Regions from separate parts of the Homo sapiens genome. Here all the other regions are linked to region 6. The links are contacts of gene promoters, found by promoter capture Hi-C in blood cells and fetal thymus (Javierre and others, 2016). All regions are on one chromosome and are shown on one strand. Each heading gives the region's core, a stretch centred on a gene start or on the middle of the fragment in contact. The rest is flanking DNA. Distances are from core to core; before and after follow the strand shown.

Region 1 (3,370 bases), core at 316-2,815, 630 kb after region 6:
TAATTGATTTAGTTTAATTCTGATGTCACAGGTCAAGAGTATTCTAAGTATCATTGCTATAAATCTGGGCAGTCCAATGAATTAATCTCTTGAGATGCTCTTGAGGGAGGGGGTTGATTCCTTGGTGAGATTAGGAGATGTTACATACCATATCCTGCCTACTATACCCCTATACCTCTACTTTCCCTCTTGGAGAATTCCAGTGCACAATAGCAAATTAAATGCTCCAATAGGTTCTGCATTTTGTTAGATAACCTATTTAACTCTGTTCAACAAATTGTTCCCTCAACTTATTTGGCTTCAGAATACATTTAACTTATAACACCTAAAATATTCTGTGATCTGAAAACGCTGTTAAAGAGTTTTTACAAAATGTAGAAAATATCAGAATGTTGTCTTTCGATTTTCAATTTTTTAAAAAAATGTAGGAAATCACTGTAAACTATGAAGATAACAATAATAGATACGGATTAGTAGAAAAGACCACAGTAAAAGATTTACATGCCCCCTAGAAATGATAATGTACAAAGACAAAAACGGCAGGAATTAAGAACCTCAAATAGAAGACACACTTGGGAAAATAAATAATAAAAGAAGAAAAACTGATAAGACAGACAAGGAAGGCGGTTAGTTCATAAAAAGCCTTGGATGCTACAAAAGCAAACCTCATCCTTCAAGGCCCTAGTCAATATTTCTTCTACAGAGCTTAAAATGATCTGCCTCTATGGAAGAGATAATAGAAAGAAACAAACATAAGATTTGGAATGAGAAGGATCTATGTTTACATTCGGGTTCTGTCACTTATTAACTAAATTAACCAGCCAATATGTGCCACAAATGGTTGATGAAAGTAAAGATAAAGGTGGTAATAATAATACTGATACACCAAGCCCTTTACATACTCATTTACTACTCACAATGCATCAAGATAGGTGAAATCATCCGCATTTTATAGGGAATGAAATTGAAGCTCAGTGCATTTAAGCAATTTTCCTAAGACCTTGAGATTGTTTTGAACATTGAGAGAAATAAGGTGTGGATGAACTATTCTAAAGGCTGTAAAGCTCCATACAAATTTTGGATGTTATTAACTAAGAATGTGAATAAATGCCTTTGCTATCTGTATACACTTGCTTGTTAATCTTTCTTACAAAGACTATTCTTTGTAGTAACATCAATTATCAAGGTTTGAGAGATGTGAAAATCCATTCTTTTTTTTTATTATACTTTAAGTTTTAGGGTACATGTGCACAATGTGCAGGTTAGTTACATATGTATACATGTGCCATGCTGGTGCGCTGCACCCATTAACTCGTCAATTAGCATTAGGTATATCTCCTAAAGCTATCCCTCCCCCCTCCCCCCACCCCACAACAGTCCCCAGAGTGTGATGTTCCCCTTCCTCTGTCCATGTGTTCTCATTGTTCAATTCCCACCTGTGAGTGAGAAGATGCGGTGTTTGGTTTTTTGTTCTTGCGATAGTTTACTGAGAATGATGATTTCCAATTTCATGCATGTCCCTACAAAGGACATGAAATCATCATTTTTTATGGCTGCATAGTATTCCATGGTGTATATGTGCCACATTTTCTTAATCCAGTCTATCATTGTTGGACCTTTGGCTTCGTTCCAACTCTTTGCTATTGTGAATAGTGCCGCAATAAACATACGTGTGCATGTGTCTTTATAGCAGCATGACTTATAGTCCTTTGGGTATATACCCAGTAATGGGATGACTGGGTCAAATGGTATTTCTAGTTCTAGATCCTTGAGGAATTGCCACACTGACTTCCACAATGGTTGAACTAGTTTACAGTCCCACCAACAGTGTAAAAGTGTTCCTATTTCTCCACATCCTCTCCAGCACCTGTTGTTTCCTGACTTTTTAATGACTGCCATTCTAACTGGTGTGAGATGGTATCTCGTTGTGGTTTTGATTTGCATTTCTCTGATAGCCAGTGATGGCGATCATTTTTTCATATGTTTTTTGGCTGCATAAAGGTCTTCTTTTGAGAAGTGTCTGTTCATATCCTTTGCCCACTTTTTAATGGGGTTGTTTGTTTTCACAGAGCCCTGAGAAATAACGCCACATATCTACAACTATCTGATCTTTGAGAAACCTGACAAAAACAAGAGATGGGGAAAGGATTCCCTATTTAATAAATGGTGCTGGGAAAACTGGCTAGCCATATGTAGAAAGCTGAAACTGGATCCCTTCCTTACACCTTATACAAAAATTAATTCAAGATGGATTAAAGACTTAAACGTTAGACCTAAAACCATAAAAACCCTAGAAGAAAACCTAGGCATTACCATTCAGGACATAGGCATGGGCAAGGACTTCATGTCTAAAACACCAAAAGCAATGGCAACAAAAGCCAAAATTGACAAATGGGATCTAATTAAACTAAAGAGCTTCTGCACAGCAAAAGAAACTACCATCAGAATGAACAGGCAATCTACAAAATGGGAGAAAATTTTTGCAACCTACCCATCTGATAAAGGGCTAATATCCGGAATCTACAATGAACTCAAACAAATTTACAAGAAAAAAAATCCGTTCTTTAAGAGATAAATATTGACAGCTTCTTTCTACTATATTGTTCCAAAACCAGAGACTTAGTGCCACTAGTATTTTTGGAAGCTCTGGTTATTCAAACGCCTTGACCAAAATGATCATTAATTTTAAGTAAATAAAAGCTCAAGTTTTCATTACAATATTAACTAACTAGATGGTAATACCTGTACTGCAATACATTCTCTAGACACATCCCTGGTAACAATACGCTATGTTTTAAACACAGTTTTCTAATTCACAATTGCTTAAAAAGAATAAAATAGCTAGGAATCCAACTTACAAGGGATGTGAAGGACCTCTTCAAGGAGAACTACAAATCAGTGCTCAATGAAATAAAAGAGGATACAAACAAATGGAAGAACATTCCATGCTCATGGGTAGGAAGAATCAATATCGTGAAAATGGCCACACTGCCCAAGGTAATTTATAGATTCAATGCCATCCCCATCAAGCTACCAATGACTTTCTTTACAGAATTGGAAAAAACTACTTTAAAGTTCATATGGAACCAAAAAAGAGATCGCATTGCCAAGTCAATCCTAAGCCAAAAGAACAAAGCTGGAGGCATCACGCTACCTGACTTCAAACTATACTACAAGGCTACAGTAACCAAAACAGAATGGTACTGGTACCAAAACAGACATATAGACCAATGGAACAGAATAGAGCCCTCGGAAATAATACCACACATCTACAACCATCTGATCTTTGACAAACCTGATAAAAACAAGAAATGGGGAAAGGATTCCCTATTTAATAAATGGTGCTGGGAAAACTGGCTAGCCATATGTA
Region 2 (3,349 bases), core at 637-3,136, 690 kb after region 6:
GTGTCTATGTGTTCCTCATTTGCATGGAAAGGAGAAATTCCTTTGGTTGTTGTCAATAGGGCACATACAAAGTATGTGTGACTATCTCAAATAATTTTATACCGACTAAATTTGAAAAAAAGCTTTACTATTAAAGCCAAAACACTGTTATTCAATGTAATCATGCATTTTAAAATATATATTCATAAATACAGTAAACCATAGCATTAGGTTACATTAAAAACATTTACCAAAGCCTACATTATGCATATACTCTTCCTCAATTCATAGGCTACTCCTTTTAAGCTCGTATAGAATTTACTGCTTGCTTTTCTCTAGACATTTACTCACTATGACTGCAGTAGAAACTACACCCAACAAATACATCAACCAAATGAGGACAGAATAAAAATCTTTTCAGACATTCAAAGACTCAAAAACTTTATCCGCCTTGAACCTCTTCTCAGGAGGCTACTGAAGCATATATGCTACAAAACTGTGGTGAAAGGCCCAGAATCCAGGGAATAAGATATCCAGTAGAGGGAAGAGGAAAGGGAATTATGGTCTCTGTGTAATGAATTCTTTCAGGTACAGTATGTCTGAAAAAACCTTCATTTGCCTTTGTTTTAACAAGGTATTTTTGTTGTGTACAAAATTATAGGTTGGCAGACTTTCTCTTTTGGTACTTTAAAGATATTGTTCCACTGTCTTCCAGCTTATATTGTTTGTTTTAAAAAAAACCCTGAACTCATTTTCGTCTTTCTTCCTCTGTAAGTAATGTATCTTTTTCTCTAGCTCTATAAAGATTTTCTCTTTATCAATGGCTTTGAGCAATTTGATAATAATATGCCTTGGTGTGGTTTTCTACACTTTTTGTTTTTGGAATTTGTTGATGATTTGGGGTCTGTGGGTTTATAGTTTTCATCAAATTTGGAATATTTTTGGCCATTATTTCTTCAAATATTTTTGACCTGCAAAATGACCTTTACCCCTCATGGTATCCAATTACATATATTAGGCCACTTGGGGGTATCCCACAGCTTGCTAATTGCTCTTTTTTTTCTGGTCTTTTTTCTCTCTGTGTTTTATTTTGGGTAATTTGTATTATTATCTTTCAATTATAAATGTGTAAGGACCTAACAATAGGTATTGAAAATACATGAAGCAAAAACTGATAGAACTGGAAAGAGTAAAAGACAAATGTAAACTTGTATTCAGAGACTGTAACATACTTTTTTCAATAATTGATAGAATAAGTACAAAAAAAATCAGTGTGAATATACAAAGCTTGAACAACTCTATCAACCAGCTTGGGCTAACTGACATTTACAGAACATTCAACCCCAAATAGCAAAATAGATAATACATTTTTCTCAAGCACAAACAGAAGATTTACCAAATTGCACCATACTCTAGGCCATAAAACAATTTACAATACATTTAAAATAACTGAAATCATATAAAATATGTTCTCTGAATATAATAGAATTAAACTAGAAGTCAATGAAAATCTCCATCTAGAAAATCTCCAAATATTTGTAAAGAACATACTTCTAAATAAATACATAGGTCATATAGGAAAAAATAAATAAGAAAATATATTCGTTACATGAAAATTTTAAGATAAAAATTTGTGAAATGTGGCCAAAACAGTGCCTACAAGAAATTTTAACATTAAAAATGTATATTAAAAAATAAACAGATCAAATTATGATCTCAGTGGCCACCTTAAGAAACTAGAAGAACATATAAAACCAATTGAAAGCAGAAGAAAACGATGACGATATAAGAGAAAGCGATAAGTTCTGAAACCAATGGAAAAAACTTACAGAGAAAAATCAGTGAAACTCAAAGCTAATTCTCTAAAATGATCAATAAAATTAACAAACCACTCATCAGATAGGCCAAGAAAACAATAGCCACAAATTATCAATTCAGGAAAGAGAGGATATCACTACAAATTGTACAAACATTAAAAAGATAATGAAGAGGTATTACAACTTTATGACTGTAAATTCAACATACTAGATAAAAAGGGCAAACTACTCAAAAGATAAAAACTACCAAAACTCACCTAAGACAAAATAGATAGCCTGAGTAGTCTTATACCTGCCAAAGATATTAAATTTGTAGGTTAAAAATTTATTATCTTTGAATTTTTAATTCCAGCCTTCCAACAAGGAAAACTCCAGGACCAGATGGCTTCACAGGCAATTTATATCCAACATGTAAGAAATAAGTAATACAAATTCTTCACAAACGCTTCCAGAAAATTCAAAAGAAGGAAACAAAATTTAACTCACTTTATAAGGCCAGCATTAACCTAAAAACAAACCTAGAAAACACATTAAAAGGAAGAAATTAAGATCCTGAAGAACAGAAAACAAAATTCTTCAATAAAATGAAAGCACATCAATCCAATAATATATAAAAAGGATAATGCATCATGACCAAGTGGAGTTTACCTGACAAATGCAATATTCAAGACATTCAACAATCAATCAATGCCAAATGAGTTAAAAGCTTATGTCCACTCAAAAAACTGCACAGGAATATTTATAGCAGCTTTATTCATAATCGCCAAAACTTGGAAGCAACCAAGATGTCCTTCAATATGCAAACGAATAAACAGTGGTTCTAACCATACAACAGAATATTATTTAGCAATAAAAAGAAAGTAGATGGCCAGGCATCTGGTTTACTCCTGTAATCCCAGCACTTTGGGACGCTGAGGCAGGCAGATCATCTGAGGTAAGGAGTTCAAAACCATCCTGGCCAATATGGCGAAACCCTGTCTCTTACTAAAATTACAAAAATTAGCTGGGCATGGTGGTGGGCACCTGTAATCCCAGCTACTCGAGAGGCTGAGGCAGGAGAATCACTTGAACCTGAGAGGCAGAGGTTGCACCGAGCCAATATCGCACTACTGCACTCCAGCCTGGGCGACAGAGTGAGACTCTGTCTCAAAAATAAATAAATAAATAAAAAGAAAGGAGCTATTATGCCACAAAAAAACATGGAGGAAACTTAAGTGCATATTACTAAGTGAAAGAAGCCAGTCTGAAAAGATCACATACTATATGACAGCAACTACATGACATTCTGGAAAAGGCAAAACTACAGAGACAGTAAAAAGATCAGTGGTTGCTAGGGGTTTGGTAGCAGGAAGGGAGGAAGTGAGGACACATTAATGCAAGATATTAACAATGGGAGAAACTGCATTGGGGGAGCAGGAATATCTGAGTAGTTTCCATTCAATTTTTCTGTAAACCTAAAATTGCTCTAAAAAATAAAGTCTATTAATTTTTAAAAGTCAATCAGTATAAATTCACCACATGATCATTCCAACAGAACCAAAAAAAAAAAAAAA
Region 3 (2,977 bases), core at 1-2,500, 720 kb after region 6:
TTGAAACTCACATAAGTCAGTTAATGTAAATTTTGATTGCTGTTTTGTAGAGATCATCCTGATGTTCACAGATACAGTGTGGAGACTGTACAGTGGTATCCTCATGACACTGGCATGTTCACATCAAGCTCATTTGATAAAACTCTGAAAGTATGGGATACAAATACATTACAAGTAAGTACATTAAAACATTTGCAGATTGCTTTGTAGGATAAAGGAGAATTTAATCCTAAACCATTTTAGTATGATTATTTGCTGAGATGTCATATATGTTAGATGTGAAAGCAGTACAGTGGTTAAGAAGAGCTAGACTACTTGAGTTCATATCCTGGCTGTGCTGCTGACAGCTGTATGACATTGGGCAAATGTCCAAACCTCTGTGTGTCTTTCTCATCTGTAAATGGGAATAATGATTATAGTATGGTTGTGAGGATTAAATGAGCCAAAATATGTAAAGTACCTAGTACAGTACATAGCATATAGTAAATGCTCAAAAACTGTTAGCTAATATTATTATCCCTTTGTGAAAAATACTATGATCTAGTAATCTAAAGTAGAAAATTGGATTTATCTTTGATTGATCTAAAAACTTGAAGGAGAAAGCTGTTAATACTGTAGCTTAGTAAAGACAAGCAATGGATAATAGTTTGTATGACATTTGGTCAAATTTACATTCCGAGTGCTAATCTTTTCTCTGAGCTCTACTCTGATATGTCTCTACTTTTCTACAGTACCTCTATACTTAAATGTAGTGTCATCCCTTCAAACTTAACATGGTCCCAACTGAACATGATCACATCTCATTAAATTTAGTCATAAAATCTTAGCAATCCTTTCTTCAAACTCTCTCATACCTCTCTTTTCTATTTACCTTGCCTTTACTGCACATCTGGACTACTAAAATCACTGCCTTACCTTCTACATTTTCTACACTAAGTTCTACCCCAGAATTAATCTTATTATAAAGCAGTTTCATCATGTCACTACCCAAACCCTCTAGGGATTCCCATTGTCTAAACTCAGCCTGGCATTCCAAGTTCTCCATGACATCAACCCTTGTTCCTTCAATCCTATGTTCTACCAGTTTTCAACACAAATGCTTTGCTGCAACTAAACTGATCGTGTTTTGAATCTGTTGTATTCCCTACCTCAAGTCCCTTTCCCTTGCAACTCTTCCCTTCTCCTAAGGTCACATCTTTTTTTACAATTACATTGAGCCAAGACTGTAGATGCCAGAGTTCTAGTTCCATTCTGCCACTTATGAGATTTGTTGCTTTAGATAAGTCATTTAATTTGTTAGCAAAGGTCTCTTCAGCTATAAAATTAAAGTGTCAGACTAGATGGTGTCTAAGGTCCCTTTTAGTTCTATCATGCAGTTTAGTGATTTCAGCTTCTGGAGTAAATATTAACCATTATTTTACTTTATAGCACTATTTTCTGTATTCCTATTTCAATACATTCTCATACTACTTTATAATATCATTTTCATACTTGTTTGTCTTATTTGTTGTTCTAGATTGTTACTTCCCCAAAGAAAGTACTATGTCTTATACATTACTAAATTCAGTGCTATGTACAGTAACTGCTGAGTAAATGCTTTAGGGATGACTAACAATGTATGTAACTGGCCACATACTAAAAAGTAATAAAATCATGAAGTATATTATGATTCTAGTGAGCAAAACAAAACAGTGTTGTGTATATAAATGTAAATTTAATATACTTCTAATAATTCAAACTAAATAGATGTGTTTTTTTGACCTTGCTACATTAGAATAGTCCTATTATTTCAGATTTATTTTTATAATAAAGTATATTTATTTAAAATACATGTCATTGAAAATGAGAGTATATTTTAACAATTAAATGAATGTCATGACCTTTCACTTCTGACTATAATGGAATATCTTGTAGCCAAACCAGCACCTCCATTGAGAAAAGCTAGATAAAGCATAAACAGGCATCTAGTTGAGGGTTTTATAAAGCTGCCAAGAAATCTAGGAATTGAGAATCAGATCCTAGAGAGGGGAACACTTACAGAAATGCATTCAACTTTCCACACACTCTTTTTCTCTTTGGACATTTGTCATTAAAGTAAGGCAAGAGACTGAGAAGACAGGCATTGGATAGCTTCTAAGAGGCAGATAAATGAGTGGGACTTTAGTCAATTTCATAAAGCTAGAGAGACAGAAATTGGAATGTGGGCTGCCAAGACAGCCAGAAATTAAAGGGTCAAGATCACAGAAAGAAGAGAGATGCAGAGAAATCAGCCTAACATCTTGCACTGGTTTTTTCTTTGAGATATTTGCTGACCAAGCTATGCGAGACCATAGACTTAAGAAATGAAGCAGAAGACATTTGAAGAACAGCAATTTTCCCCAGTCACATGGTACTGGAGAGAAGAATTGCAGTGCAGTACTTGCTAAGTAGAAGGGGGCCTAGGAAAACACCCAGGCTCTTAGGGCACCTAGAGGGGAATACTCTAATAATGGGTACAAATAGGAGGTAGATGGAGCCTGTGGTAGGCAGCATCATGTCCCGCTCCCAGATGTCTATGTACTAATCTCTAGAACATACGAAGGGGAATTAAGGTTGCCAATCACCTGACCTCAAGACAGGGAGATAATACTGAATTATCCTAGTGGGCCCAATGTAATCATAAGAATCTTAAAAAATGGAAGTGGGAGGCAGAAGGAGACGGGGTAAATTTGACTGGGAGAATGGCCAGAGAAATGTAAAATTGCTAGCTTTGAAGATGGATTAAGGGGATCACAAGCCAAGAAATGTGGGTGGTCTCTGGAAGATGGAGAAAGTATTCTCTCCTAGAGCCTCCAAAAAGGAATGCAGCCTGTCAACACCTTGATTATAATCCATTGAGACCTATGTGAGAATTTTAACTTGTAGAACAGATTTATTACAGATAATAAATTTGTGTTATAAATTACTAAGTATGTGGTACTTACTAAGTACAGTAAGT
Region 4 (3,272 bases), core at 206-2,705, 670 kb after region 6:
AAGGGGTATAAGCTCTTTGGTTATGGTAAAAAAAATGGGTGAGAATTAAAGGATATCATTAGAAACTAACAAATGAGATAGTAATAGAATAAGAAACCAAGAAATACGGGCATTAAAAAAGGTAGAAATACAGAGGTAAATACAAAACTACAAACCTTCCTATATACCATGAGAAATTTTAAAACATAGCAAAAAAAAAAAAGAAAACCAAAAAAAAAAAAAACAGAATACACATATCAGTAAATGAGAATGTGCTTAGTTTTTCTACTTTAAAAAAAGAGATTAAAAACTTGGCTGACAAATCAAGACTCTAATATAACCTGTACACAAGAAACACACCTAAAACAAGTGATTTAAAAATGCTGTATTAGTCTGTTCTCACACTGCTATGAAGGAATACCCAAGACTGGGTAATTTATAAAGAAAAGAGGTTGAATTGACTCACAGTTCCGCATACCTGGGAGGCCTCAGAAAAGATATAATCATGGCAGAAGGCACCTCTTCACAGGGTGGCAAGAGAGAGAATGAGTGGTGAGTGAAGAGGGGGAAGTCCCTTACAAAACTGTCAGATCTCATGAGAACTCACTCATCACCACAAGAGCAGGATTGGGGAAACCACCCCCGTGATTCAACTATCTCCACTTGATCCCGCCCTTGACAAGTGGGGATTTAGAGATTACAACTAAAGGTGAGATTTGAGTGGGGACACAGAGCCAAACCATATCAAATGCTAAGAATTAAAAAAAAAAAAAAATGGGCCAGGCACAGTGGCTCATGCCTGTAATCTCAGCACTTTGGGAGGCCGAGGCAGGCAGATCACGAGGTCAGGAGTTTGAAACCAGCCTGACCAACATGGTGAAACCCCATCTCTACTAAAAATACAAAAATTAGCCAGGCTCGGTGGCGTATGCCTGTAATCCTAGCTACTCAGGAGGCTGAGGCAGGAGAATTGCTTGAACTCGGGAGGTGGCAGTTGCAGTGAGCTTAGATCACACCACTGCACTCCAGCCTGGGTGACAGAGCACGACTCCGTCTCAGAAAAAAAAAAAAAAAAAAAGGGAGGGGGGCAAAAAGAATGGGCAAAGTTGTATCAGCCAAATATTAAGAAATAGAGGTTGTGCCAAATGTCCATCAATGATAGACTGGATTAAGAAAATGTGGCACATACACACCATGGAATACTATGCAGCCATAAAAAAGGATGAGTTCATGTCCTTTGTAGGGACATGGATGAAGCTGGAAACCATCATTGTCAGCAAACTAACACAAGGACAGAAAACCAAACACCGCATGTTCTCACTCATAGGTGGGAACTGAACAATGAGAACACTTGGACACAGGGTGGGGAACACCACACACCGGGGCCTGTCATGGGGTTGGGGGAGGGGGGAGGGATAGCATTAGGGGATATGCCGGGCGCGGTGGCTCACGCCTGTAATCCCAGCACTTTGGGAGGCCGAGGCGGGCGGATCACGAGGTCAGGAGATCGAGACCATCCTGGCTAACACGGTGAAACCCTGTTTCTACTAAAAATACAAAAAAATTAGCCGGGCACGGTGGCGGGTGCCTGCAGTCCCAGCTACTCGAGAGGCTGAGGCAGGAGAATGGCGTGAACCCGGGAGGCGGAGCTTGCAGTGAGCTGAGATCAGCCACTGCACTCCAGCCTGGGCGAAAGAGCCAGACTCTGTCTCAAAAAAGAAAAAAAAAAAAGAAAGAAAGAAAAAAGATATATCTAATGTAAATGACAAGTTAATGGGTGCAGCACACCAACATGGCACATGTATACATATGTAACAAACCTGCACATTGTGCACATGTACCCTAGAACTTAAAGTACAATTTAAAAAAAAAACGAAAAAAGAAATAGAGGTTGTGATTCAAATATTAAAATAGAATTAGAGAGCATTAAGCATGACCCAAAATTTTCAGCCACAGTTCACAATAAAGACAAATTATAAATAACTATTCAATAAATAACAGAACCACCACTCAATGAAGCAAACACAAATGATATTGGTAGAACACAGATAAAAATACAGTAAAAAAAGAAAACTTTAAAATAATCCTCCTTAATATGAGACAAATTATGTAGACAAAAATATATATATAAGGATATAAACAACCAAATAACATAATCAATGATGAAGAGTTTAACAGCCTACATATTGAACTTTACATCTCAATAATGGAGAGAATGGAGAAAAACTAAAAGCCTTTCCTCTAAGATCTGGAATACAACAAGGATGCCCACTGTCACCACTGTTATTTAACACGTACTGGAAGTCCTAGCTAAAGCAATCAGGCAAGAGAAAGAAAGGGCATCCAAATTGAAAAGGAAGACGTCAAATTATTCTTGTTTGCAGAGGATATGATCTTATATTTGGAATAACCTAAATACTCCACTAAAAAACTATTGAAATTGATAAATAAATTAAGTTGTGAGATACAGAATCAACATACAAAAATCAGTAGCAAACAATCTTCAAGAGAAATCAAGAAATCCCATTAATAAGTACAACTAAAATACCTAAAAATTACCTTAACCAAAAAAGTGAAAGATGTCTACAATGAAAACTATAAAACACTGATGAAACAAATTGAAGAGGACACACATGCAAAAAAATAGAATGATATTCCATGTTCATAGATGGGAAGAATCAATTCTGTTAAACTGTCCATACTATCCAAAGCAATCTACAGATTTAATGCAATCCCTATCAAAATACCAATGACATTCTTCACAGAAATCAGAAAAACAATCCTAAAATGTATATAGAACCATAAAATACCCTGAATAGCCAAAGCTATTCTAAGCAAGATGAACAAAACTGGAGGAATCATGTTACTTGATTTCAAATTATACTACAGAGATATAATAACCAAAATGGCATGGTACTGGCATAACAACAGATACATAGGTCAGTGGAACAGAATAGAGAACCCATAAATAAATCCATACACCTACAGTGAACTCATTTTCAACAAAAGTGCCAAGAACACACAGTGGGGAAATGACATTCTCTTCAATAAATGGTGCTGGAAAAACTGGATATCCATATGCAGAAAAATGAAATTAGACCCCTATCTCTCAATATATACAAAAATCAAATCAAAATGGACTAAAGACTTAAATCTACAACCTCAAGCTATGAAACTACTGAAAGAAAACAGTAGGGAAACTTTCCAGGACATTGGTCTTGGAAAGATTTCTTGAGTAATACCCTACAGGTGCAGGCAACCAAAGCAAAAATGGATAAATGGGATCACATTAA
Region 5 (3,280 bases), core at 643-3,142, 650 kb after region 6:
GATCTCATTCTTTTTTATGGCTTAATAGTACTCCATTTTATATATGTACCACATTTTCTTTTTTAAAAAAATTTCTCTTTTAACTTTCACTTTAGGTTCAGGAATGCATATACACGTTTGGAATACAGGTAAACTCAGCTCATGGGGGTTTGGTGTACAGATTATTTTGTCACCCAGATATTAAGCATAGTACCCGATAGGTATTTTTTCTGATCCTGTTCCTCCTCCCACCCTCTGACCTCAAGTTTGTCCCAGTGTCTGTTGTTCCCTTTGTTGTGTCCACGTGCGTTGTTACTTAGCTCCCACTCATAAGAGAGAACACATGCAGTATTTGGTTTTCTGTTCCTGTGCTAGTTTGCTAAGAATAATGGTCTTCAGTTCCATCCATGTTGCTGAAAAGGACATGATCTTGTTTTTTATGACTGCATAATATTTCATGGTGTATATACACTCCATTTTCTTTACCCAGTCTGCCATTCATGGGTGCTTGACTCCATGTCTTTGCTATTGTGAATAGTGCTGCAATGAACATACATGTGCATATGTTTTATGGTAGAACGATTTATATTCCTTGGTGTATATACCCAATAATGTGATGGCTGGGTTTAAAAGTAGTTCTAAGTTCTTTGAGGAATTGCCACACTGATTTCCACAATGGGTGAACTAATTTACACTCCTACCAGCAGTGTATAGGTGTTCCCTCTTCTCTATAACCCCTCCAGCATCTGTAATTTTTTGATTTTTAAAATAATAGCCATTCTGACTAATATAAGATATCACGCTGTGGTTCTGATTTGCATTTCTCTAATTATTACTGACGTACAGCATTTTTTCATATGCTTGTTGGCTGCATGTATGTCTTCTTTTGAAAAACATCTGTTCATGTGTTTGGGTTTTGCTTATAAAATTTGTTTAATTTTAATTTTCCTTACAGATTCTGGATAGTAGACCTTTGTCAGAAGCACAGTTTGCAAATATTTTCTCATATTTTGTAGATTGTCTGTTTACTCTGTTGATAGTTTCTCTTGCTGTGCAGAAGCTCTTTAGTTTAATTAGATCCCATTTCTCAATTTTTGCTTTGGTTGAAATTGCTTTTGGTGTCTTTGTCATAAAATATTTGCCAGTTCCTATGTCCAGAATGGTATTGCCTAGGTCATCTTCCAGGGTATTATAGTTTTAGATTTTGCATTTACAGCGTTATATTCTTGAGTTGGCTTTTATATATGATGTAAGAAAGGGGTCCAGTTTCAGTCTTCCACATATACCTAGCCAGTTATCCCAGCATCATTTGTAGAATAGGGAGTCCTTTCCCCATTGCTTGTTTTTGCCAGCTGTGTCAAAGATCAGATGGTTGTAGGTGTGTGGCATTATTTCTGGGCTCTCTATTCTGTTCCATTGGTTTATGTGCCTGTTTTTGTACCAGTACCATACTGTTTTGGTTACTACAGCCCTGTGGGTGTAGTTTGAAGTCGGGTAACATTATGCCTCCAGGTTTGTTCTTTAAGCTTAGGATTGCTTTGGCAACTTGAGCTCTTTTTTGGTTCCATATGAATTTTAAAAGTTTTTTTCTAGTTCTGTGAATAATGCTATTGGTAGTTTGATTAGAATCACACTGAATCGCAAATTGTGTTGAGGAGTATGGCCATTTTAAAAAATATTGGGTTCTTCCTATCAGTGAACACGAAATGTTTTCTCATTTCTTTGTATCATCTCTAATTTCTTTGAGCAGTGTTTGTAATTCTCATTGTAGAGATCTTTTACCTCCCTAGTTAGCTGTACTCCTAGGTATTTTATTCTTTTTCTGGCAATTGTGAATGGGATTGCATTCCTGATACGGCTCTTCACTTGCATGTTGGTGTAAAGAAATGCTACTAATTTTTGTACATTGATTTTGTATCCTGAAACTTTGCTAAAGTTGTTTATCAGCTCAAGTTGCTTAAGCTGCTTTTTGGCCAGGAGTATGGGGTTTTCTAAATATAGAACCATGTTTTCTGCAAACGGATAGTCTGACTTCCTCTTTGCCTATTTGGGTGCCTTTTATTTCTTTTTCTTGCCTGATTGCCCTGGCTGGAACTTCCAGTATTATGTTTAATAGGAGTGGTAGGAGAGGGCATTCTGGTCTTTTGCCAGTTTTCAAGAAGAATGCTTCCAGCTTTGCCCATTCAGTATGATGTTGGCTGAGGGTTTGTCATAGTTGGCTCTTATTATTTGCATTCCTTCAATGCCTAATTTATTGAGTTTTTAACATGAAAGGATGTTCAATTTTTATCAAAAGCTTTTTCTGCATCTATTGAGATAATCACATGGTTTTTGTCTTTAGTTCTATTATGTAATGAATCACATTTATTGATTTGTGTATTTTGAGCCAACTTTGCATCCCAGGGATAGAGCCTACTTGATCATGGTGGATTACCATTTTGATATGCTGCTGGATTGGATTTGCTAGTATTTTGCTGAGGATTTTTGCATTTATGTTCATGAAAGATATTGGCCTGAACTCTTATTGCTATTGTTGTTGTTGTATCTCTGCCAATTTTGGTATCAGAATAACACTGGTTTCATAGAATGAGTTGGGAAGAAATCCCTTCTCAATTTTTTGGAATATCTTCAGTAGGAATGGTACCAGCTCTTCTTTATACATCTGGTGGAATTCAGCCAAGAATCTTTCTCATCCTGGGCTTTTATGGGGGATTGGTAGGCTATTTATTACTGATTCAGTTTTAGAGCTCATTATCGGTCTGTTCAGGGATTCAATTTCTTCCTGGCTCAGTCTTGGGAGAATGTATGTGTCCAGGAATTTAGCCATTTCTTCTGGAGTTTCTAGTTTGTATATATAGAGGTACTCATAGTAGTCTCTGATGGTTATCTGTATTTCTGTGGGGTCAGCGGTAACATTCTCTTTCTCAATTCTAATTTTGTTTATTTGGATCTTCTCTCTTTTCTTCTTTGTGTACTTAACAGTCTATATTATTAATTCTTTCAAAAAAACTATCTCCTGGATTCATTGGTCCTTGTATGGTTTTCCATGTTTCTTTTTTTTTTTTTTTTTTGAGACAAAAGAGTCTCACACTATTATTGCCCGGGCTAGAGTGCAATGGCATAATCTCAGCTCACTGCAACCTCCACCTCCTGGAATCAGGCGATTCTCCTGCCTCAGCCTCCTGAATAGCTGGGATTGCAGGCACCCGCCACCACGCCTGGCTTATTTTTTGTATTTTTTTAGTACAGATGGGGTTTCACTATGTTGGCCAGGCTGGTCTTAAACTCCTGACCCTGTGAT
Region 6 (3,080 bases), core at 471-2,970:
CTGCCGCCCTACCCAAGGAGAGTGTAGATGGAAGTAAATATCTAAATGCCCTCATTAGGGTGGGGCTGTTCCAACACAGGAATTACGACACACGGCCAGACTCAGAGGCTGCCCTCTGTTCTGTGGCAAAAGGGTCCCAAAGTACAGCCCACTGCTTAGCCTGACTGCCCTTCCTAAGTACTTCTTAAAGACTGCGTGTCCCAACCGGGCTCAAGCCTGTAATCCCAGCACTTTGGGAGGCCGAGGAGGGCTGATCTCGAGGTCAGGAGATCAAGACCATCCTGGCTAACATGGTGAAACCCTGTCTCTACTACAAATACAAAAAAATTAGCCGGGCATGGTGGCGGGCGCCTGTAGTCCCAGCTACTCGGGAGGCTGAGGCAGGAGAATAGCGTGAACCCGGGAGGCGGAGCTTGCAGTGAGCAGAGATCGCGCCACTGCACTCCAGGCTGGGCGACAGAGCGAGACTCCGTCTCAAAAAAAAAAAAAAAAAAAAAAAGACTGTGTGTCCCACTTTATCTGAGGGGCCAATCTGCTCAAGACATTTTTGAGCTGCCAGTCCCGAACTGCGTGCTTAAGCCCCAAGAGCTAGCAGGTATCCGCAGAGCCCCTGCACAGGGCTGCTGGGAGTTTCCATTGGCCACGCCTTCTGACCTCAGTTCTGCACTCCCATGCTCATTAGCTCCCTGCATTCTTGGATGCTCTTGAATATTCCCCTGCTCACCCTTCTTCTCTTGCCTGGTACAACCTTGGTAGCCTGACCCCAGAACTGGGCTGCTTGCCCTGGGCACCAGTTGGCTTTGTTCCCAGGCATTACTGCTGGGATTCGCTCTGGACTCTGAAATATGCCTCCTCAGCCAGCCCGACTGCCCAGATCCCACCAGCCTGCTCTGTCCAGAGAGATGAGACATTCGGACTATTCAGTGTCCGTTCATGCCATCTGCTGGGATCATGATTTCTATACTCTGGTCACACATTACATGAATAATACTTCCCCCATTTCCTCAAAAAGATCCTCAGACAAGCTCAACCCCCATGTGCTAGTAGTTCAGGATTCTATGACCATCCTAAGTTTACACAACCACTTGGCCTTGGCTGGCCAAGACATGATGGTGTGGGAGCCTAGGAAGACCCTTCAGAGACGGCAGCAACCAGACTCCTCTTCTCACAGTCCCCCTCCAGCTCTGGTCTGTCCTCCTCACACAACCTCCCCCTCACAGTTTTGGGGTCTCATCTTTGGACCCTCTCTTGCCCCATTTTCCAAACACATCATCCCTGGCTGTATTAGGGGTCTCTGGGGCAGCCGCACTATGCTTTGATAGAGGGATGAGGTAAAGTTATTTTCCACTTTATTAACCTGAAAAAGCATAAACCGACCAAGTTTAGGGGCCTGAAGCATATTCTAAACAGACAGTGTCTCCTCCCTGACCCAGTTCTCTTACGGAATCATGGGAACCCATCTCCTCGACTTAGCAGCGGCAGACAGGCTGGTGTTTCTTGGCATTGTTTTCTAGGGCTGAAGCTGCAGTTTTCCTGATTTGGCCCTTGCATATTATTTAATTGTTTATCTTGACATACAGGTTTATCCCAGAAGGGGATGTTTAAAAAGTGGCATGGAGACCCTGGCTATAGACAGAAATGCAGCTTAACTTACCTTGGCTTCCTTCCTGCCAGACTCCTCCCAATTATTCTGCAGGCTTCTTTGCCCTGAGGGCAGTTTGCAGCTCCAGGGACTGGAATTGGCTTAAAAAAAAAATTCCTTCCTCTCTGTGCCCCATGTGAGGGAGCATTGTGTTCTCTCTAAATAATCAGCCTGGCTTTGTGTGACCTAACTGGACAGGGCCCTTTGAGAGATTTTTCAGTTGCAGAAAGAGCAGTCAGTGGCATCCTACAAAATCAGAAAGTTTTCAGACCAAGGAGAGAAGTCAGTGACAGCAAGATATTTTTTTCTTTAAGTTGTATTGTGACTAATTCCTCTCTCCCACTGGTGTTTAGAGTAATTAGGTAAAAGTGCAACAGAAGAATCCAAATTTATATTTTAGATCTAATAAATAATAACATTTAATCAGATGATCCCCATCCATTAACACCAAAATAACAAACAATTCAATGAATTATTTTAGGGTACTTACTATGTGCAAGGCATTGTCAAGGTAATTATTTCTTGCATTTACTGATTTCCTCCTGGGGACGCAGCACTAGCAAGAAGCTAATGGATTAGAAAGAAGTAGAAGGCCTCCAGCTGACAACCCACTCAGAAGAGAACATGGATCAGAATTGCCTGCCTCCATGGCAGGCACAGAGCTGGGAATTCATAAGCAGAAATTACTTCATTCAATCATCTCAATAGCCCTGTGGGGAAGACAGTAGTTCTCCATTTTACAGATGTGGAAACTGAGATCCAAAGACTATGTATATAGCAGGCAGAATGATGCCTCCCCTCCTTCAAAAATTCTGAAGGCTGTGAATAGGTTACCTCAAATGGCAAAAGGGGCTTTGAAGAGGTGATGAAAGGTTTTGCAGTGGGGATGTTACTATCGACTTTCTGAGTGGGCCCAGTGTAATTGCCATGGTCTTTAATAAGGGGGTAGATAGGAAGATAAGAGTGAGAATGACAGGGATGTGACAATGGAAACAGAAATTGGAGTGATGTCGGGTCATGAGTCAAGGAATGCATGCACCCTCTAGAAGCTGGAAAAGGCAAGAAAACAGATTCCTCCCCCTCCACCCCAAGCCTCCTGAAGACGCCCTGCCCTGATAACCCACTGTGAACTTCTGGCCTCCAAAACTGTAAGATATCTTGGTCCATTTTCTGCTGCTGTAACAGAATACCACAGGCTAGGTAACTTATAAATAACAGAAGTTTATTTGTCTTATGGATCTGGAGGCTGGGAAGTGCAAGATCAAGGGGCTGCATCTGGTGAGGGCCTTCTTGCTGTGTCATAACATGCAGAAGGCATTACCTGACAAGAGAGCATGCGAGAGAGAGAGAGGAAGGGAACCAGAACTTCATTCTTCTATGTGGAGCCCACTCCTTTGATAACTAACACACTCCTGTGATTAACAGCCTTGATCCATTC
Region 7 (3,022 bases), core at 479-2,978, 700 kb after region 6:
GGGTGGCTTAAAGCCTGGGGCAAGTCCTCAGCCCTGCTGGAAATAAACTCAGAGCTGTTGTAGGGGCGCAGTGGGAGTGAAACCAGCCCTTTAGGCTGTAGGTTGCATGGGAGCTGGGTGAAGCCTTTGGCTGCCGGCCTTCCCCAACTTCCTTGGTGACCTGTGTGACACAGCAGAGGCAGCCATAATCCCCCTGGGAACATAACTCCATTGGCCTGGGAACCATGCCCCCATCTACCACAGCAGCAGCGGCAAGCCTCACCCAAGGAGATCTGAGCTCAGACATGCCTAACCCTGCTCCCACCTGATGGTTTTTCTCTACCTGCCCTGGTAGCTGAAGACAAAAGACATAATCTCCTGGGAGCTCTATCGGCCTGCCCACCACCTAACCCTAGGGCAAGCATGTATCCTTTCTATACTACTGCAGCTGATGCCCTCTTGAAAGTGCCACCTCCTGGCTGGAGGCCAACCAACACAAAACCAGTACATTTAACAAAAATACAACCAAGGGCCCTCATAGAGGCCACTTCACTCCCCTGCTGCCTCTACGGTTGCCGGTGCTGGTATCCACGGCTGAGAGACCTGAAGACAGATCACATCACAGGACTCTTTGCAGAAACTGCCCTGTACCAACCAGACCCCAGTAGCTCTGCTGGTTGGCTAGATCCAAAAGAGAAATAACAATCACTGCAGTTTGGCTCTCAGGAAGCCCCAACCTTAGGGGAAGGAGGAGAGCACCAAATCAAGGGAGCACCTCGTGGGACAAAAGAATCTGCAGAGCAGCCCTTGAGTCCCAGATCTTCCCTCTGACATAGTCTACCCAAATGAGAAGTAATCAGAAAAACAATTCTGGTAATATGATAAAACAAGGTTGTTTAACACCCCCAAAGGATCACACACCTTAGGGGAAAAGGATTCACATAAATACAAAAAATTGACATAGAATACCTGACATCAAGATGGAAATTAAAAAATTCTTTGAACTGAATGATAATAGTGACACAACCTGTCAAAACCTCTGGGATACAGCAAAAGTGGTGCTAAGATGAAAGTTCATATCATTAAATGCATACCTCAGGAAGTCTGAAACAGCACAGACAGACAATCTAAGGGCATACCTCAAGGAACTGGAGAAACAGCAAACCAAACCCAAACCCAACAGAAGAAAAAAAATAACCAAGATCAGAGCAGAAATAAATGAAATTGAAAGGACAACAACAACAAAACACAAAAGATAAATGCAACAAAAAGCTGGTTCTTTCAAAAGATAAATAAAATTGATAGACCATTAGCTAGATTAACCAACAAAAGAAGAGAGAAGATCTGGTAAATTCAATTAGAAACAAAATGGGAGATATTACAACCCTTACTACAGAAATACAAAAGATCATTCAAGGCTACTATCAACATCTTTATGCACATAAACTAGAAAACTTAGAGGAGATGAATAAATTCCTGGAAATACGCAACCCTCCTAGATTAAACCAGGAAAAAATAGAAACCCTGGACAGACCAGCAACAAGCAATGAGATTGAAATGGTAATAAAAAAGTTACCAAAAAAAGTTTAGGTACAGACTCACAGCTGAATTATATCAGACATTCAAAGAAGAATTTGTATCAATCCTATTGACACTGTTCCAAAAGATAAAGAGGGATTCCTCCCTAAATCCTCCTGTGAAGCCAATATCATGCTAATACCAAAACCAGGAAAGAACAAAGACAACCGCAGACCAACATCCCTGATGAACATAGATGCAAAAACCCCCAACAAAATACTTGCTAACCAAATCCAGCAGCATATAAAAAATATAATCCACCATGATCAAGTGGGTTTCATACCAGGAATGCAGGGATGGTTTAACATATGCAAGTCCATAAAGGTGATACACCACACAAACAGAATTAAAAACAAAAATCAGATGATTATCTCAATAGATGCAGAAAAAGCATCTGACAAAATCCAGCATCCCATTATGATTAAAACCCTCAGCAAAATCAGCATAGAAGTGACATACCTTAAGGTAATAAAAGCCATCTATAGCAAACCCACAGCCAACATTATACTGAAAGGGGAAAAGTTGGGAAGCATTCCCCCTGAGAACTGAAACAAGACAAGGATGCCCACTTTCACCACTTCTATTCAACATAGTGCTGGAAGTCCCAGCCAGAGCAATCAGACAAGAGAAAGAAATCAAGGACACCCAAATCAGTAAAGAGGAAGTAAAACTGTTGCTGTTTACTGATAACATGATTGTATACCTAGAAAACCCTAAAGACTCATCCAAAAAGCTCCTAGAACTGGTAAATGAATTCAGCGAAGTTTCAGGATACAAAATTAACATACACAAGTCAGTAGCTCTGCTATACACCAACAGTGACCAAGCTGAGGATCAAATCAAAAACTCAACCCCTTTTATAATAGCTTCAAAAAAGAAAAATAAAATACTTAGGAATATACCTAGCCAGGGAGGTAAAAGACCTCTACAAGACAAAACACTGCTGAAAGAAATCATGGATGACACAAACAAATGGAAACACAGCTAAATTCTACATTTGGATGGGTAGAATCAATATTGCGAAAATAACCATACTGCCAAAAACAATCTACAAATTCAATGCAACTTCCATCAAATACCACCATCATTCTTCACAGAACTAGGAAAAAAGAGCCTGCATAGCCAAAACAAGACTAAGCAAAAAGAACAAATCTGGAGGCATCACCTTACCCTTCTTCAAACTATACTATAAGGCCATAGTCACCAAAACAGCATGCTAGTGGTAATAAAAATAGGCATATAGACCAACGGAACAGAGTGGAGAACCCACAAGTAGAGCCAAATACTTACAGCTAGCTGATCTTCAGCAAAGCAAACAAAAACCTAAAGTGGGGAAAGGACACCCTATTCAACAAATAGTCCTGGGACAATTGGCAAGCCACATGGAGGAAAATGAAAATGGATCTTCATCTCTCACCTTCTACAAAAATCAACTCAAGATGGATCAGAGACTTAAATCTAAGAC

The links. Contacts are between HindIII fragments. The CHiCAGO score rates a contact against its expected background, and 5 or more counts as called.
Region 1: a contact is called between a fragment that was not itself captured here and the fragment with the promoter of LINC03122 in region 6, in 5 of 17 cell types (neutrophils, total CD4 T cells, non-activated CD4 T cells and 2 more). The highest score is 9.8, in neutrophils.
Region 2: a fragment that was not itself captured here is called in contact with the fragment with the promoter of LINC03122 in region 6 in 4 of 17 cell types (total CD8 T cells, total B cells, naive CD4 T cells and 1 more); the score reaches 7.1 in total CD8 T cells.
Region 3: a contact is called between the fragment with the promoter of ERCC8-AS1 here and the fragment with the promoter of LINC03122 in region 6, in 6 of 17 cell types (naive CD8 T cells, naive CD4 T cells, activated CD4 T cells and 3 more). The highest score is 9.0, in naive CD8 T cells.
Region 4: a fragment that was not itself captured here is called in contact with the fragment with the promoter of LINC03122 in region 6 in 4 of 17 cell types (naive CD4 T cells, naive B cells, total CD4 T cells and 1 more); the score reaches 7.8 in naive CD4 T cells.
Region 5: a contact is called between a fragment that was not itself captured here and the fragment with the promoter of LINC03122 in region 6, in 9 of 17 cell types (naive CD8 T cells, naive CD4 T cells, total B cells and 6 more). The highest score is 6.0, in naive CD8 T cells.
Region 7: a fragment that was not itself captured here is called in contact with the fragment with the promoter of LINC03122 in region 6 in 1 of 17 cell types (neutrophils); the score reaches 5.3 in neutrophils.

What each region holds. Positions count from the first base shown.
Region 1 is chr5:61,006,153-61,009,522 of GRCh38, reverse strand. The region is part of intron 1 of NDUFAF2 (NADH:ubiquinone oxidoreductase complex assembly factor 2); the gene reads right to left. Among named protein-coding and RNA genes, the nearest start is that of NDUFAF2, 63 kb to the right of the region's middle. The HindIII fragment of the contact is 7,028 bases long and covers 1-3,370 here.
Region 2 is chr5:60,950,643-60,953,991 of GRCh38, reverse strand. The region is part of intron 1 of NDUFAF2 (NADH:ubiquinone oxidoreductase complex assembly factor 2); the gene reads right to left. Among named protein-coding and RNA genes, the nearest start is that of NDUFAF2, 7.1 kb to the right of the region's middle. The HindIII fragment of the contact is 1,236 bases long and covers 1,269-2,504 here.
Region 3 is chr5:60,915,462-60,918,438 of GRCh38, reverse strand. ERCC8-AS1 (ERCC8 antisense RNA 1) reads right to left here and starts at 1,250. Exons shown (of 3, transcript NR_183288.1): 1 at 872-1,250; 2 at 12-144. It overlaps ERCC8 (ERCC excision repair 8, CSA ubiquitin ligase complex subunit), which reads left to right. Exons shown (of 12, transcript NM_000082.4): 4 at 51-174. The HindIII fragment of the contact is 9,095 bases long and covers 1-2,977 here.
Region 4 is chr5:60,969,725-60,972,996 of GRCh38, reverse strand. The region is part of intron 1 of NDUFAF2 (NADH:ubiquinone oxidoreductase complex assembly factor 2); the gene reads right to left. Among named protein-coding and RNA genes, the nearest start is that of NDUFAF2, 26 kb to the right of the region's middle. The HindIII fragment of the contact is 3,657 bases long and covers 1-3,272 here.
Region 5 is chr5:60,986,708-60,989,987 of GRCh38, reverse strand. The region is part of intron 1 of NDUFAF2 (NADH:ubiquinone oxidoreductase complex assembly factor 2); the gene reads right to left. Among named protein-coding and RNA genes, the nearest start is that of NDUFAF2, 43 kb to the right of the region's middle. The HindIII fragment of the contact is 770 bases long and covers 1,508-2,277 here.
Region 6 is chr5:61,636,421-61,639,500 of GRCh38, reverse strand. LINC03122 (long intergenic non-protein coding RNA 3122) reads right to left here and starts at 1,720. Exons shown (of 2, transcript NR_126525.1): 1 at 1,655-1,720. The HindIII fragment of the contact is 4,932 bases long and covers 1-3,080 here.
Region 7 is chr5:60,934,697-60,937,718 of GRCh38, reverse strand. All of the region lies in intron 1 of ERCC8 (ERCC excision repair 8, CSA ubiquitin ligase complex subunit), which reads left to right. Among named protein-coding and RNA genes, the nearest start is that of ERCC8, 8.9 kb to the left of the region's middle. The HindIII fragment of the contact is 7,783 bases long and covers 1-3,022 here.